Linked DNA regions of Homo sapiens: all the other regions are linked to region 1. The links are contacts of gene promoters, found by promoter capture Hi-C in blood cells and fetal thymus (Javierre and others, 2016). All regions are on one chromosome and are shown on one strand. The core of a region is centred on a gene start or on the middle of the fragment in contact, and the rest is flanking DNA. Distances in the headings are between cores, read along the strand shown.

Region 1 (4,227 bases), core at 833-3,332:
AAATGTAATCCATCACATAAACAGAACCAGTGACAAAAACCACATGATTATCTCAATAGATGCAGAAAAGGCTTTCAATAAAATTTAACACCCCTTTATGCTAAAAACTCTCAATAAACTAGGTATTGATGGAACCCATCGAAAAAAAATGAGCTATTTATGACAAACCCACAGCCAATGTCACACTGAATGAGAAAAAGCTGGAAGTATTCCCTTTGAAAACTGGCACGAGACAAGGATGCCCTCTCTCACCACTCGTATTCAACCTACTATTGGAAGTTCTGGCCAGGGCAATCAGGCAAGAGAAAGAAATAAAGCGTATTCAAATAGGAAGAGAGAAAGTCAAATTGTCTCTGTTTGCAGATGACATGATTGTATATTTAGAAAACCCCATCATCTCAGCCCCAAATCTCCTTAAGCTGATAAGCAACTTCAGCAAAGTCCCAGGATACAAAATCAATGTGCAAAGATCACAAGATTCCTATATACCAATAACAGACAAACAGAGAGCCAAATCATGAGTGAACTCCCATTCACAATTGCTACAAAGAGAATAAAATACCTAGGAATCCAACTTACAAGGGATATGAAGGACCTCTTCAAGGAGAACTACAAACCACTGCTCAAGGGAATAAAAGAGGACACAAATAAATGGAAAAACATTCCATGCTCATGATAGGAAGAATCAATATTGTGAAAATGGCTGTACTGCCCAAGGTAATTTATAGATTCAATGCTATCCCCATCAAGCTACCATTGACTTTCTTCACAGAATTAGAAAAAACTACTTTAAATTTCATATGGAACCAAAAAAGAGCCCATATAGCCAAGGCAATCCTAAGCAAAAAGAACAAAGCTGGCGGCATCACACTACCTGACTCTAAAGTTCTATAAATGAACTCACGAGGCCAAAGAATGAAGAAGACACCAACACAAAGGGGAAAAAATCAAAACAATATGGTCATTGCAATGGTAGAGATATGCACAGTATATTATGGAAACCCAGAGAAGACAAACGTAACACAGCTTTGGGAAGATATGGAATTTTTCTCCCAGGAGGAGAGGATGATCAAGCTGAGAGATGTGTGAACTGAGTGGAAAGGAGGGGAGTAGTATTCCAAGAGAAGCAAACAGTATGAGCAATTCATGGAGGTAGGAAAGCTGTATACAGGGAACCATCAGCAGGTTGTTGAATAAAGGAAGCTGAATGAGGCTGGGCACAGTAGCTCACGCCTGCATTCCCAGCACTTTGAGAGGCCGAGGTGGAATCATCATTTGAGGCCAGCAGTTTGAGACCAGCCTGGGTAACATAGCCTGACCACATCTCTCCAAAAAATAAAAATAAATTAGCCTGCTGTAGTGGCAGTGCCTGTAGTCCTAGCTACTCTGAAAGGATCACTTGAGTCCAGGAGGCTGAGGTTGCAGTGAGCTATGATTACCCCATTGCACTCCAGCCTGGGCAACAGAGCAAGACCCTGACTCTGAAAAAAAAAAAAAACAAAAAACAAAAACAGGATCGTAAAAGACAATACTAACATACAACAAAGCATGCAGATTCCAGTAAAGCCTGTCATATTAGGCAGATTAGGCAGGTTTAAATATATTTTTATGTGATGATGAGCCCCTAAAGGCTTTTGAGCAGGAGGGACTATCTGAAAAAAGATATAGAATGGTTAAGACCCAAGACAGAGAGAAGGTACAAGGACTATTTGGTTGATAAAATCTGTAGGAATTGGAATGGGCTGAATGTGGGAGTGGGGGTGGGGTGAGAGATGGGGAGGACTGAAGACTGAATAGACCCAGATTTCTGGTTTGAGTCCGGGAGAGGTGGGGTGCTGAATTCGAAGGTCAGGACACCTATACCTCTGGGAATACAGCGATGGTTGCAAAAGGCATCTGGTATTGTCCTTCTGCCACTGTCTTAAAAGGGATTCTAAAGGGATTTTCTTGCCCTTGTTCCTCCAGCCCTACACTTGCATTACTGGCCTACGTGGATGCTCACCAGCTGGCTGTGTCCATCATTGCAGCCAAGTCTGAGAATTCCTGATTATACTTAGAGCCTGTGGAGCTGCTGACACAAACAGTCATTAGCAGACAACCCTTTTGCAACAAAGTATGCTTTAAAATGTAAACTGTGGAGCCATTTTCCTTGCGTTGTCCAGAAGGAACTTCGTCCTGCGTGAGCCTGGATTAATCATGAGAGAGCTCGTCAACATTCCACTGGTACATATTCTTACTCTGGTTGCCTTCAGCGGAACTGAGAAACTTCCAAAAGGTTGGTTTGAGCAATCGTGTCTTCTTGTTGTCTTGTCATGGTTGTAAAGTGTGTGTATATGAGATATGACCAAGACTGATTTATAGTATGGTGGGCTTGGGTTTTACTTGAAGAAGTAAGGGTGAAATGTATGATGAGGGAGGAAATTATATACATAAGCAATTGGTTGATGGTCTCTCTACCAATATTTTACTCCGAAGTTCTGCAATAAAAGGCTTAGCCACATAGTGCATGCAGAGCTCTGACTTCTAGGGCAAAACATAAGCATGTACACTGCAAGTTATCAAGGTCTATTTTGTTTATGCGAATGTCAAATTTCAGGGTGGTCTAAGTGGATGATGACAACCTTTTCGCATCAGGTTTGCCAGGAATAGAATCAACCCCATTCTCAGACATCCAGAGCATTTGCTTCTGAATAAAAATCACTTTTATTTTCAGTTTTAGCTTTGCCAAACTCTTAATAAATATTTTAGTTGCTAAAAATTGGAAATACAGAAAGACGTACACAATTTGCCTGTGTAACAAACCCGGAAGACAATGGATTTTAAATAACTTTGAGGCTGGAGTCATGATTTGGCTTGGCAAGAGACTGCAAAAGTTTTTTTCAGAGCCTTTGGAATGTACCGGAAATAACACCACCTCAGGGGAAAGGAAAGCAACTTAAGAAACTGACAAACACCTGTTGCAGTAGCAAGAATGTCCAGTGATATAGTTTCTGGCCAGTGTATTATGAAACTGGGACTAGCGTATTTGAAATCAGAAAGACTGGAAAGTCTGTGATTTGCAAAGTGACTAAGGGTATCACTGAAATCTTTTTTTAAAAAGACATGAGAAAGCAGATCGAGTGGTATCAATACAAGAGTTTTCAAATTTAATGTTATACCATAGAGTAAAAAGAGATTTTTGCTTCAGGACATGTTCAAATTAATCATTTTCCCTTTATATTAATCAAAGCACTGAAACAGTTTGTATTGTGTAGATAAATGAAGGTGGTATCTGTATATAGATGCAAAATGTATCTTTAGATTTTCTGGTTCACTAAAAATTCTGGAGCCATAAGGTCAAAGTTCACATGCAAATAAGATGCGGGTTTCTTCACAAACAATCTGATTTCACAGATTTTTTTGTTTCATTTTGTTGCTTCTCTTTTTCCATTTTACTTGAGTATAATGGTATCTTCAAATGTATTTAAACATTTAATTTCTAATGAATACTTTAAGGCATCTACAGATAAAAGAGACTCTAGATCTTTTCAAACAGCTAATAATAGTCAGAAAGACTTAACATTGGCTTCAGATTATTTTAATACTTCCTGATCAAACAACGGATGTCCGGTAAGGCCCCACCTGGATGTTTGAACGTATGGGTTGTCTTAAGTATTATTTGTATATTTCTAAACCACGCAGTTACATAAAAATGATAGGGTTAAATACTAAAATACAGTCTTATAAAGAGCAGGACAATTGATTTTGATGATTCAAATAAGGATTTGTTGTACACACACACAAAACCCCCAAAATCTCTCTATCTGAATAAGTCTTAATTTATATTCTAGAAAGAATTGATTTTCATTTCCAAACTTTACAAATAAAGCCCTTAATTCAAATGCACACTATCTCTATTTTGAAAATATTGAAATATAGTGGCATAGAGATAACAAAGCCAAACACCCTGACTTTTAAATAAACTAACCAGATCATTCACCCAATTTCATTTCTTATAATTTATTTACTACTAGAATTAGGTTTTAAAATCAAAAAATTTAAGCAATTTTTTCTCAGTCTATTGTACTGTAAAATCTAAATTAGTATGAGTTTAACATCACTCTTAGCCAAAATACCATGTCTAGGAGAACAAACATTTATTTACTACATACAGCAGTTCTGAGAATAACTAATATCATGAAAGCATAATCCTTAAAATTTTAAATGTTGAAGGGTGAGGAATACATT
Region 2 (4,227 bases), core at 1,172-3,671, 660 kb after region 1:
ACTGAGTCTTTCCTATTTTCATATATACATGTTCTTAAAAATTGCTTTCATCTTATGAATTTCTCTGCCAAATTTTATATTTAATAGATTTCTCTAATAATAAAAAATTTATTAGATTATTATAAAACATTACTTCAAAGAAGCTTAATTTTTGTGCTACTCTTAAGACTAACAAGCACAAGTTTTTAAGTGAAAAAATCAGCCCAGTTACCTGAGATTTGATATTCAAAAGTATTTAATAGTAGCCAAGAAGAATTGGTCCTCCCATCTGAATTCCGTATCAGCAACTTCAAATAAAACGTTGTTTTATGATGCACTTCATAAAGTTAACTACGTCCAAGAAATAATAAATTAATTCATATTTTAAAATGTTAAATATTATGTACAAATCAATAGTGCGATTCATTTCTTTTGAAATTATTAACTCTTACCACCATAACTAAAAATACCAAAGGATAGCAACTGAAATATTAGGTAAATTTAAATCATTTATTGTTTTGGGGGAATATCTGTTGTCCCTGAACAATTTAAAGTTCAGGAGCTAAGATATATAGAGGTTTGAAATTTCAGATCCTTCAGGGATATTGTCCCAAAGATCCAATTATATCAAACTTTTAAAAAGTTAAATAGAGAGTGAACCACACAGTTCCTCCAAAATACTTTGGAAAAACTCAGAAAACAAAGTTTTCTATTCACTTTCTTCTTGTCAATCTTTAGCTATGTCAAGACTTTTTAATGAATGATTTCAGCGTAGAATACTTAACAGAATACAGAGAAAAGATGTCCCTACAATACTAAAATACATTTTGTGCATTTGTGAAATTACTCCCTGGTTTTCAGAAATTAGGGAAAGAACATTTACTTTTTAAAGCCACAGAGAAATCACTGACTGCCCCAACAAGTGATCAGAAATGTTATTTAATATACACATATTGAGAGGATTGTAAGGCAATGAGACCTCGGTAGTAATGGGCACATCCTAGATCTTTGCTTTGTTTTGTTTTGTTTTTAAGACAGAGTCTGGCTCTGTCGCCCAGGCTGGAGTGCAGTAGCACGATCTCAGCTCACTGCAACCACCACCTCCCAGGTTCAAGGGATTCTCCTGCCTCAGCCTCCTGAGTAGCTGGGACTACAGGCATGTGCCACCACGCTGGGCTAATTTTTGTATTTTTGGTAGAGACAGGGTTTCACCATGTTGGCCAGACTGGTCTCGAACTCCTGAGCTCAAGCAATCCACTCACCTCAGCCTCCCAAAGTGCTGGGATTACAGGCGTAAGCCACCACCCCCGGCCCCAGATATTAGTTTCTAAACACCATTCTTAACTAGAAGGAAACATGGCTCCTTGGGAAAATGACTAATACCAGAGCTAGGATAAGAAAGAACAAGATTAACTTAGAGTATCTTACCATACCAGAAAGTAAGAAATATGCAAAGAATGGTAGGAATATAGCAAAGGGTCATAGACGCCCACTTGATGAAGCTCCCATTGCTAAATTTAGGACAGATTATTTGGAGCATCAAAATAAAAATGATAATAATTGATCATAATTCATAGAATAATATAAAAATGTACGTTATTATATAAATAAATAGGAATAGAAAGCTCTTCTTCACAGTAGGATGCCAAAAAATATAAATTTAGAGGAATGATGTTAGAAAATAATCAATCACAGTTAAGGGTTTTGTAGGCAATAGATTACCACAGGTAAAATGTTGTATTAGGTTAATGTAGGCAGTGTCGTTTTTGAAGGTAAAAGTTGGATGAACAGTATATTTACATGGTGTCAAAATATCTCACCACAAATTACTTAGTAAGTTTAAAGATAAAATAATAACTTTATGGTGGGGAGGCCTGAAGGATAATCATGTTAAAATCACCAATATTGGGACAAATAGACTCCATGTGCCTTCTAATATGAGGTACTGAGAACACACTATCACTTCTGAGGTATTCCCATCAAAATTAAATCACCAGAATCTAACCATGAGTGTAAACCAGACAAACCTAAATTTAGGGATATTATGCAACATAATCAGCCTATGCTTTCCAAAAGTACAGACAATTCTCAAAAAAGGATATACAAATGGCCACAAAACATATGAAAAAATGTTCAACATCACTAATTATCAGGGAAATGCAAATCAAACCCACAGTGCAGTACCACCTTACTCCTGCAAGAAGGGCCTTAATCAAAAAATAATAGATGTCGGCATGGATGGGATGAAAGGGGAACACTTTTACACTGCTGGTAGGAAGGTAAACTAGTACAACCACTATGGAAAACAGTGTGAAGACTCCTTAAAGAACTAAAAGTAGATCTACCATTTAATCCAGCAATCCCACTCCTGAGTATCTACCCAGAGGAAAAGAAGTCATCATACAAAAAAGATACTTGCACACATGTTTATAGCAGCACAATTCGCAATTGCAAAAATATGGAATCAGCCCAAATGCCCAACAATCAATGAGCAGATAAAGAAAATGTGAGATAGATAGATATACATACACACACACACCATGGAATACTACTCAGCCACAAAAAGAAACAAAATAAAGGCATTTGCAGCAACCTAGATGGAATTGGAGATCATTATTCTAAGTGAAGTAACTCAGGAATGGAAAATCAAACATGCTATGTTCTCGCTCTCTCACTCATAAGTGGGAGCTAAGCTATGAGGATGCAAAGGCATAAGAATGACACAATGGACTCTGGGGACTCAGGGGAAAGGATGCGAGGCTGGGGAACAAAAGACAACGTATTGGGGATAATGTACACTGGTGGGTGTACCAAAATCTCAGGAATCACCACTAAAGAACTTACCCATGTAGCCAAACACTACCAGTTCCCCCAAGACCTACTGAAATAAAAAAGAAGAAATCATAAAATAAAAAACTCCTAATTAAAAAAAAAAAGTGTCACAATCAGGAAACAAAAAGAAAAACCAAGAAAATGTTCCATACCTGAAAGAGACAGGACAACTAAATATGATACATGCCCCAGCATGAATCTTAGATTAGGAAAAATGGTCTGTAAAGGACATTATTAGGACAATTGACAACATTTGAAAATGGGCTGGGGATTAGATATTAGCATTCTATCAATATCATATTTCCTGATCTTGATCACTGTACTATGGTTATGTAAGATAATGCTCTTATTCTTAGGAAATACACACTGAAGCATTTAGTGTTAAAAGGGCAAAATGTCTCCAACTTACCCTCAAATCATTGGTAAAAATATTTTTTTAAAAGTTGTGTGTGGAGAGAAAATGCACTTATTGCCACATACTTTTTGCAAGTAATGCCTTCTCCATATTTTCTGTGTCCTTATGACAGTTCATTTACTCTGGATCACTGATGGCAAACGTCCAGAAAGAAGACCCTCAGAAGAACTTGGTCCTACCACATGAATAGGCAAATTGTTTCCTTCTTAGGAAAAGAAGAAACAACAACTATATTGAATAATATAAAATATAAAATAGAGCTAATTAAATGGTAGGATTATATTTTGGGGATAATGGGCTAGAGTGGCCCATACAGCATGAGCTTGGAATAGTGAAACTGGCTAAATCCAATAGGCTTGTTTGATTGTAAAACATAGGAAACATGATAACTAATGACTTGAAGTTTTAATAATATTAATCTTGAAACTTTATTTTTCTAAAAGTCAGCACTCACGACAAATCCCTCCCACCACCAGGCAACAAGACAACAAGAATTTTATAAGAAAATTGACAATGAGATGACCGTCTATGTAGAAAATCTGAAAGAATCAACAAAAACCTGCTGGAACTAAGAATAAGCAATTCCCAATAAGGTTTCAGGACACAGGGTTAATGTACAAAAGTCACTTGCTCTCCTGTATACCAGCAAAGAAGAAATGGAATTTGCAATTAAAAACACAACATTGTTTACACTAGGATCCCTCCCCCACAATGATATACTTGAGCATGAATCTAACAAAATATGTGTATAATCTATATAAGGAAAACTATAAAACTCTGATAAATGAAATCAAAGAAGAACTAAATAAATGGAGAAATATTTCATGTTCTTGGATGCTAGGAAGACAATATTGTCAAGAAATCAGCTCTTTCCAAACGGGCCTGGCAAGATGGCCAAATAGGAGCAGCTCTGGTCTGCAGCAACCAGCGAGATCAACCCAGAAGGCAGGTGATTTCTGCATTTCCAACTGAGGTACCCGGCTCATCTCACTGGGACTGGT
Region 3 (4,227 bases), core at 1,012-3,511, 640 kb after region 1:
CTTCCGCCACATGAGGAACAGCATTCATCCCCTCTGGAGGACACAGCATTCAAGGCACTATCTTGGAAGCAGACATCCAGCCCTTACTAGATACCAAATATGTGAGTACCTTGATCTCAGACTTCCTAGTCTCCAGAATTGTGTGACATAAATTTCTGTGTTTACAAGTCTCAGGTATTGTGTTACAGCAGCACAACAGACTAAGATAGACAGTATCCATTGGCACAGAGGGCACATATGGGAAATGTGGTAAGATACCATTCTCTTATGTATCTTCATAACAGTGAGCTAATACCACAAGCTGAGAAATGCAATCAAGACCACAATATCAATTTATATTAATATTGGCAAATATTTAAAAGTCTGACATACCAAGTATACATAGCATGTGTATTAACAGAATCTATAGACAGCATGTGTGTTAACAGAAACATTAGTGGTTGGACTATAAACTGTTAATGGCCACTCTGGAAACCAGTTTGGGATTATTCTTTAAAACTGAACATTCACATTTCATACAAGCTAGTAATTCCATTCAACAAAAACCAACAGGCACACTTTCATATTTATACCAGGAGAAATGTTCAAGATTGTATATAACGACACTGTTCATGATAGCAAAAAACAAACAAACTGAAAAAATAGCCCCAATGCTCTAAACAGGAAAGTGTATTAACTTTGGTATGTTCACACAATGGAATATTATGCAGAAGTCAGAATGAATACCTACTCGCACAAAACATAATAAAGATGCCTCTTAGAATATAATATAGTGTGAAAAAGCAAACACCTTTAAGAGAGAATGTGGCACACAGTGACAAAGAAGACCCTAAATACACCTCGTTATATATGACAAAACCACATAAAAATAAGGCAAAAGAATGATAAACACAAAATTCACGACAGTGTTTACCTTAATAGGGAGGTCAAGGAACAGGCTGGGAATCAGCCTATAGGTAGACACAAGTTATTTTGTCAATATTCTAATTTATATGCAAATGAATGAGCTCATGACTGTTCATGCTATTATTCAAAATAAACAATGAGACTTGAATGATGAAATTGTTTAATGAACCAAGGACTATAATTACTACAATTCTATTCACCCATGGTCCATAAAGAAAAAGAAGAAAAAGAAAAACTCCAGTGAGTTCTACCAAATACTTAAGGAAATATAATTCCAATTTTTATACATACTCTTTCAGAGAATAGAGAAAAGGAAACACTTGCGAACTCATTTTATGGTGCTAGCATTCTTTTATATCCAAACCCAATAAATCCAGCCTGAGAAACAAAAATTACAGACAAATATTGCATGTTCTCACCCATATGTAGGAGCTAAAAAAGTTAATCTCATGAGGGTAGACAGTAGAATAATAGTTACCGGAGGCTTGGAAGTGGGGGAGTCGGGGGAATGAGACAGGTTGGTTAATGGGTACAAACATACAGGAACAGATGGGAGGAATAAGTTCTGCTGTTGGATAGCAGAGTACGGTGACCACAGTTAACAATGTATCGTATATTTCAAAATAGCTAAAAGAGAGGCCTTGAAATGGCAGTGGCTCACACCTGTAATCCCAGCACTTTGGGAGGCCGAGGCAGGTGGATCACCTGAGGTCAGGAGTTCAAGACCAGCCTGACCAACATGGAGAAACAACATCTCTACTAAAAACACAAAATTAGCAGGGCGTGGTGGCACGTGTGTGTAATCCCAGCTACTCAGGAGGCTGAGGCAGGAGAATCGCTTGGACACAAGAGGCGGAGGTTGCGGTGAGCCGAGATCGCGCCATTGCACTCCAGCCTGGGCAACAAGAGCAAAACTCCATCTTAAAAAAATGTTCCCAACACATAGCAATGATAAATGCTCGAGGCAATGTGTATCCTAAATACCCTGACTTGGTCATTACACAGCCTATGCATGTAACAAAATATCACATGTACCCCATAAAAATGTACAAATATTATCTCAATTAAACAATTAAATTATGAGCTAACAAATTGTGCAAAACTGAAAACAAAATGCTTTCAAAATTCACAATAAATTTTGTCCAAGTTAAGGAAGTTCGTATCTATTTTAAGTTTGCTGGCAGTTTTGTAAAATCATGAAAGGATGTTAATTTTATCAAATGGGATTTTTTTCATCTGTTGAGGTGCCAACATAACTCTCCCCCTTTAATCTACTAATGTGGTAGTTGATGTTTTTATTAAAACAACTTTGCAGGACTGGGTGCAGTGGCACACACCTGTAATCCCAGCATTTTGGGAGGCCAAGGCAGGTGGATCACTTGAGCCCAGGAGTTCAAGACTAGCCTGGGAAACATTGTGAACCATGTCTCTACAAAAAATACAAAAATCAACTGGGAATGGTGGCACGCACAAGTAGTCCCAGCTACTCGGAAGGCAGAGGTGGATCTCTTGAGCCCGAGGGGTCAAGGCTGCAGTGAGCCGAGATTGCACCACTGCACTCCAGCCTGACCACCAGAGTGAGACCCTGTCTCAAAAACAAAACAAAACAAAAAAACAAAAACTGCATATCTGGGGTATGTCTTGCATGTAATACAAGTTTTCCATGTATTACCTTTTTTTATACATGATTGGATTTCGTTACTTGTTTAATTCTGATTTTAAAACTTTTTTTGTTGAGGTAAAATATACATATATAAGTTTTCACTTTTACCATTTTCAAGTGTACAGTTCTGTGGTAATAGTAAATAAATACAAGTATATTCTTTTTCTTTCCCTTCATCCCTCCCTCCCTCCTCCCCCTCTCAGCCTCTAGTAACCACCAGTCTATTCTCTATCTTCACGAAATACTGAGAACATGCGATATTTGTCTTTCCATGCTTGGATTATATCACTTAACATATGGCCTCCAATTCCATCCATATTGTTGCAAATCATAGGATTTCATTCATTTTTATGGCTGAATAATATTCCATTGAATATAGGTACCACATTTTCTTTATCATTCATCCACTGATGGACACTTAGATTGATTCCATAGCTTGGCTATTGTGATTAGTGCTGCAATAAACATGGGAGTGCAGATATCTCTTTGACATACTGATTTCCTTTCTTGTGGGTATATACCCAGCAGTGGGATTGCTGGATCATAGGATAATTCTATTTGTGGTTTTTTGAGGAACCTCTATACTGTTCTCCATAGTGGCTGTACTCATTGACATTCCCACCAACAGTGTATGAGGGTTCTCCTCTCTCCATATTCTCACCAGCATCTGTTATTGTCTGCCTTTTGTATATAAACCATTTTATCTGCATGTTTATCACATTGTGGTTTTGATTTGCATTTCTCTGATGATTAGTAATGTTGAGTATCTTTTCATACACCTGTTGGACATTTCTACATCTTCTTCTGAGAAATGTCTGTTCAGTTCCTTGGGCTTTTTGTTAATCAGATTACTTGGTTTTTTGCTATTGAGTTTTTGGAGCTCCTTATATATTCTGGCTATTGATCCCTTGTCAGATGGGTAGTTTGTAAATATTTTCTCCCATTCTGTGGGTTGTCTCTTCACTTTGCTGATTGTTTCTTTTGCTGTGCAGAGCTTTTTAACTCGATGTAATCAAGCTAATTTGTCTATTTTTGCTTTGGTTGCCTATGGTTTTGAGGTCTTACACATAAAAAATTTGCCCAAATGTCCTGGAGCATTTCCCCAATGTTTTCTTCTAGTAGTTTCACAGTTTTAGGTCTTAGATTTACATCTTTAATCCATTTTTGTTTCATTTTTGTGCATGGTGAGAGATAGGAGTCTAGTTTCATTTGTCTGCATATGGATGTCCCATTTTCCCAGCCCCATTTATTGAAGAGACTATCCTTTCCCATTGGATGTTCTTGGCCCCTTTGTCAAGAATAAGTGAATTGTAAATGTGTGTTTGTTTCTGGGTTCTCAGTTCTGTTCCATTGGTCTATATGTCTGTTTTCATGCTATTTTGGTTACTATAGCTTTGTAGTAAATTTTGAAATCAGGTAGTGTGATACCTCCAGCCATGTTCTTTTTGCTCAGGATTGCTTAGGCTACTCGGGGTCTTTTGTGGTTCCACATAAATTTTAGGACTTTTTTTTCCGTGAAGAATGTCATTCGTATTTTGATAGGGATTGCGTTGAATCTGGAAGTTGCTTTGGATAGTATTGTCATTTTAACAATATTAATTCTTCCAATCCATGGGCTTGGAATATCTTTCCTTTTTTGTGTGTCCTCTTCAATTTCT
Region 4 (4,227 bases), core at 588-3,087, 620 kb after region 1:
TTCAGAGTTCAGATACAAGTCATATTTATTTCGCTTTAGCTAAGCACATCTTCATGGTAGCTGGCTCATTTTTGTTCAAGTAATTTACATCCATTTCCTCTTATTAAGTCATTTGCCCCTCCTTTAAGTCCTTTTAGGCAGTTAGTAGTCCATTGTTTTCTCTTGGGACCTATTTCCTTCAGCTTTTATACTTTTTGGTACTCTAATATCCTGAAACAGCAAAGTTTCCAAAGTGACTAACTTAACCTAAGATGTTACTCATACATCAGAGGAATCGTTTTCAGAAATGTCTTAAACAGCTTTCTCCTTTCTTCAAATAAATTTTAATGCAGAGGCTTGATATATAAAACAGGTAAGTGTGGAGTGCCTCAGTTTTCAGGATAAGAGAACTCGGATGGGTAGGCTTGTGCTCATTCTTGTCCCCCGAGGCTGCCCAGAAGGACCTTTCCAGAAATCTAGGTACCTGTAGAGCACATTTTAATAACACTTGTGCTAACAGAATCTGAATTATTTAAATACTATATGTGTGCAGATAGATAGATAGATGATAGATAGATAGATAATAGATAGATAGATAAACTTCTACCCTGATTTGTAGACCATGCCATGCCTGGAGAGATCTAAATATTCACAATGAAATGAACAACAAATAAATCTATATAGAATCAATGAAAAGATACTGCAATAAAGAAGGAAGCCAAATATAAGGCATGAAAACTCAGGAGAAAAGTAGACTCTAAAAAATAATGAGATGACTTCCAGAAGAATCAGAAGAAAATTATGGTACAGTTTCCTAGTGTTCCCAGAGTTATAAGAAGACATGACCTTTGTAAAACAAAAACTCCAAGTTTTAATGGGGAATATAGTTAAATGAAGAAAGAGATGCAGAAGGAACTAGCTGAAATGAGAAAAACAAGTACAAAAAATCTAATATATTATAATAAAATTAAAATCTCCATTGAAGAAGGTAATGAGCAGAAGTGACATTGAATAAAACTGGAACAATAATATTGAAGACAAACTTGAGAATCTATCACTGCACAGAGAGAAAATAACAACAAAAATTAAATACTGACAGGAAAAATGATATTTTTCAAAAACAGGGAAGTCAGAAATATTAGGACCCAAAAACAAAATGAACAAAAAACATAAAAGAAAGAAAAAAAATTTTCTGGAATTAAAAAAATAGAAATCCTGAGTCTATTCAAAAACAGGGTTCAGGATGTTCCGGGAAAAATTATTGAACTAGAACCCATTCCAACACAAAAGGCAAACTATTTTAATGATGTGGATAAAGAAAAATACTATAGAGTATAAGAAGAAGAAAAGTTTATCTAGAAATGGAAAAAATTCAAGCTTCATCACATGTGTAAATTCAAGAAGAAAATGGAGGTGTGTCTGCCAGATTTTGAGGGGAAAAACATAGTGAACTAAAATTCTGAACTTTGTCAACTTTCTTTCACAAACAAAAGCAACAGAAAAAACTTCTCATGCAAAGATACAGCAAGAATTCCACAAATGCACCTTTGACAGAAATGTCTTCAATTACATTCTAAAGCTAAAGTAGTTGAAAGAGGATTCAAGAAGTCAAAAGTCAAAATATAAAAGCACTAGTGTCAGTACAGACAAGATAACATAACAATATACACAGAAAATAACTACAAAACCTGTTGCAAATAAAATTTTAAAATTTCACTCAAAGCAAACATAAGACTGCCATTTATGGTATCATAATGGACTAAAGACCATGATTGACCCTCCTGGTGAAAATGACTAAAAAATGCTAGATTAAATATATATTTTTAATAACTCTTTTTCTTGAGATGAGATCGCACTCTGTTGCCCAGGCTGGACTGCAGTGTGACGCGATCATGGCTCCCTACAACCTCGGTCTGCCAGGCTCAAGTTATCTTCCCATCTCAGCCTCTGGAATAGCTGGGACCAGGTATGCACCACCACACCCAGCTAATTTTTGCATTTTTTGTAGAGATGCGCTTTCGCCATGGTACCCAGGATGGTCTTGAACTCCTGAACTCAAGTGATCCACCTGCCTTGGCCTCCTAAAGTGCTAGGCATGAGCCACCATGCCCGGCCTTAAATATATATATAGTTTTTAAACTTTTTTTATTTGTTAATTAGCTTGATTTAATCATTCCATAGTGTAAATATGGATCAAAACACATCCTGTATCCCATAAATATACAATATATATGATTATTATTTTTCAATTAAAAATAAAATTTAAGAAAGAAAGTACATTACCTGTGGAGAACAAATGCTATATATCTGTTAATGCAGGGCTGGAATTTAAATTATTTAAAGCTTCATGTCCTTATTTTTGTCTACTTAGCCTGTCAGAGATTGAGAATACTGTATTACGGCTTCCACTATAATTGCCTCTGACATTGTTCTTTTGCAAAAGGTTTTATTGTATACATTTATTTGCCTATTTTATATATTTCTTAGTTGCTATATATTCAGTATGGGGATGCTTCATTATAAAATATTTCTCTTTTACCATAGTCATTGTCTTTTTAAATACTCAATAAGCTGATAAGAAAATAGACAACCTTTGGACAATAAAAACTGAAGAGAACAAAAAAATACCTAGAGGAATAAGTGGAGAACTAAACCTGGCTTTGTTTTGAGGCATTTTCTGAATCCAAGTGACCTTAGGCTTCTGTTTTCACAGGCTCATGGGTTGCAGAGGACAGAAGACGAAGCTCACCTGTGATGCACAGTCTCATGGAAAACTGGCCAAATAACAAGTGGGTTCCCAAAGAACTACTTGTACATCAGTGTAAGATGAATAGAATCAAACACCTCACACACCAAGGGCATAATAGAGAAAATTGCCTGTTTGAAACCTTGGATGGGGTAAAGAAGGTATGCAAATTCATTCCAAAGCTAACCCCCTCAGGAGCCTCAAATTTTCTCTATCTAGATGATCCAACAAACCTGAGAACTTAATTTAAAGTTATCCCCCTGGGTTTTCAGTGTCCCTAGTCTCATGGAAGAAGCAAATGTAAATATTTTTTCAATGAACCAACCCTCAACAAAAGCCTCAAAGAATTCCTACCAAAGATATTCCAAGGACCATGAGCAGCTTACAGTCAAAAATTACAAAATACACAAGGAAAGAAGCTACCATCTGAGAAAGCCTGCAATAATAACAGACAACAAAATCAGTCTTGCAAAGAGTTCAGATATTGGAATTATTGGTAATAGAATATTTTTTAAATATGTTGATTTAAAATATATTCAAAGAAATGAAATGTTTTAAATATGATTAAAGAGCAAGGGATTATAAGAGTAAGCAGATTTGAAAAAGAACCAAACTGTGCTCCCAGTATCAAAATATAAAATAAAATCATTGAAATGAAACAAATTCCATGAAGCAGTTGAACCAGACGATTAGACACAGATAAAAGTATTAGCAAAAAGTTAGTTATACAGAATTAATTTAGTATGCTCCTTAGAGAGACAAAAAGATGGAAAACAATAAAAAGGAGGTTAAGATATAGAAGATAAAGTGTAATATACATGTAAATGGAGTTTCATAAAAAGGGAGAAATAGAATGGAGAAGAGGTAATACCTAAAGAGATAATGATGAGTAATTTCCTAGAATTTATAGAAGAAATCAATAGCGAATCCAAGCAGGATACATAATAATAAACACATAGCTAAATTCATCATAATAAAATATCAGGATATTACAAACCAGGAGATTTTTCAAACAGGAACTAGAGTGGAAAGAAAAATTAATGCCAAAGGAGTAACAACATTAACTGACATCTTAACAGCAAAAATGGAAGCCAGGCAGTAAAATAATATTCTCAATATGATAAGAGGAAATAACTCAACCTAGCACAGTAGATCCAGTGGAAAAACATTTCAAGAGCAAGTACAAAATAGACATTTTCAGACAAAACAAAACTTCATAATTTGCCATCATTAAAGAAAATTCTAAAACAGAATTGTCCAATAGAAATATAACATGAGCAATATGTAAATTGAATGTTCTAGTATCCACATTTTTAAAGCAAAAAAAAGGTAAAATTAATTTTAATAAGTCTGTTTAATCCAATATATCCAAAATATTATCATTTCAAAATGTAATCGATATAAGAATCATTAGTGAGATATTTTGGGTTTGGTACTTCCTTTGAAACCCAGTGCGTACTTTATACTTACAGCAAATCTCAATTCAGACTAGTAATAACTCA

What was found. The method cuts DNA at HindIII sites, captures the fragments that hold promoters and counts their contacts. A CHiCAGO score of 5 or more calls a contact.
Region 2: a fragment that was not itself captured here is called in contact with the fragment with the promoter of MUSK in region 1 in 1 of 17 cell types (M1 macrophages); the score reaches 7.4 in M1 macrophages.
Region 3: a fragment that was not itself captured here is called in contact with the fragment with the promoter of MUSK in region 1 in 7 of 17 cell types (M2 macrophages, M1 macrophages, monocytes and 4 more); the score reaches 10.0 in M2 macrophages.
Region 4: a contact is called between a fragment that was not itself captured here and the fragment with the promoter of MUSK in region 1, in 5 of 17 cell types (M1 macrophages, endothelial precursors, erythroblasts and 2 more). The highest score is 6.7, in M1 macrophages.

The regions. Positions count from the first base shown.
Region 1 is chr9:110,666,709-110,670,935 of GRCh38, forward strand. It overlaps MUSK (muscle associated receptor tyrosine kinase), which reads left to right and starts at 2,083. Exons shown (of 15, transcript NM_005592.4): 1 at 2,083-2,275. The coding sequence starts at 2,197. The HindIII fragment of the contact is 6,269 bases long and covers 1-4,227 here.
Region 2 is chr9:111,329,895-111,334,121 of GRCh38, forward strand. It overlaps OR2K2 (olfactory receptor family 2 subfamily K member 2), which reads right to left and starts at 330. Exons shown (of 2, transcript NM_205859.2): 1 at 212-330. The HindIII fragment of the contact is 4,561 bases long and covers 142-4,227 here.
Region 3 is chr9:111,308,142-111,312,368 of GRCh38, forward strand. No RefSeq gene overlaps it. Among named protein-coding and RNA genes, the nearest start is that of OR2K2, 20 kb to the right of the region's middle. The HindIII fragment of the contact is 4,775 bases long and covers 1-4,227 here.
Region 4 is chr9:111,288,845-111,293,071 of GRCh38, forward strand. No RefSeq gene overlaps it. Among named protein-coding and RNA genes, the nearest start is that of MIR7702, 20 kb to the left of the region's middle. The HindIII fragment of the contact is 966 bases long and covers 1,355-2,320 here.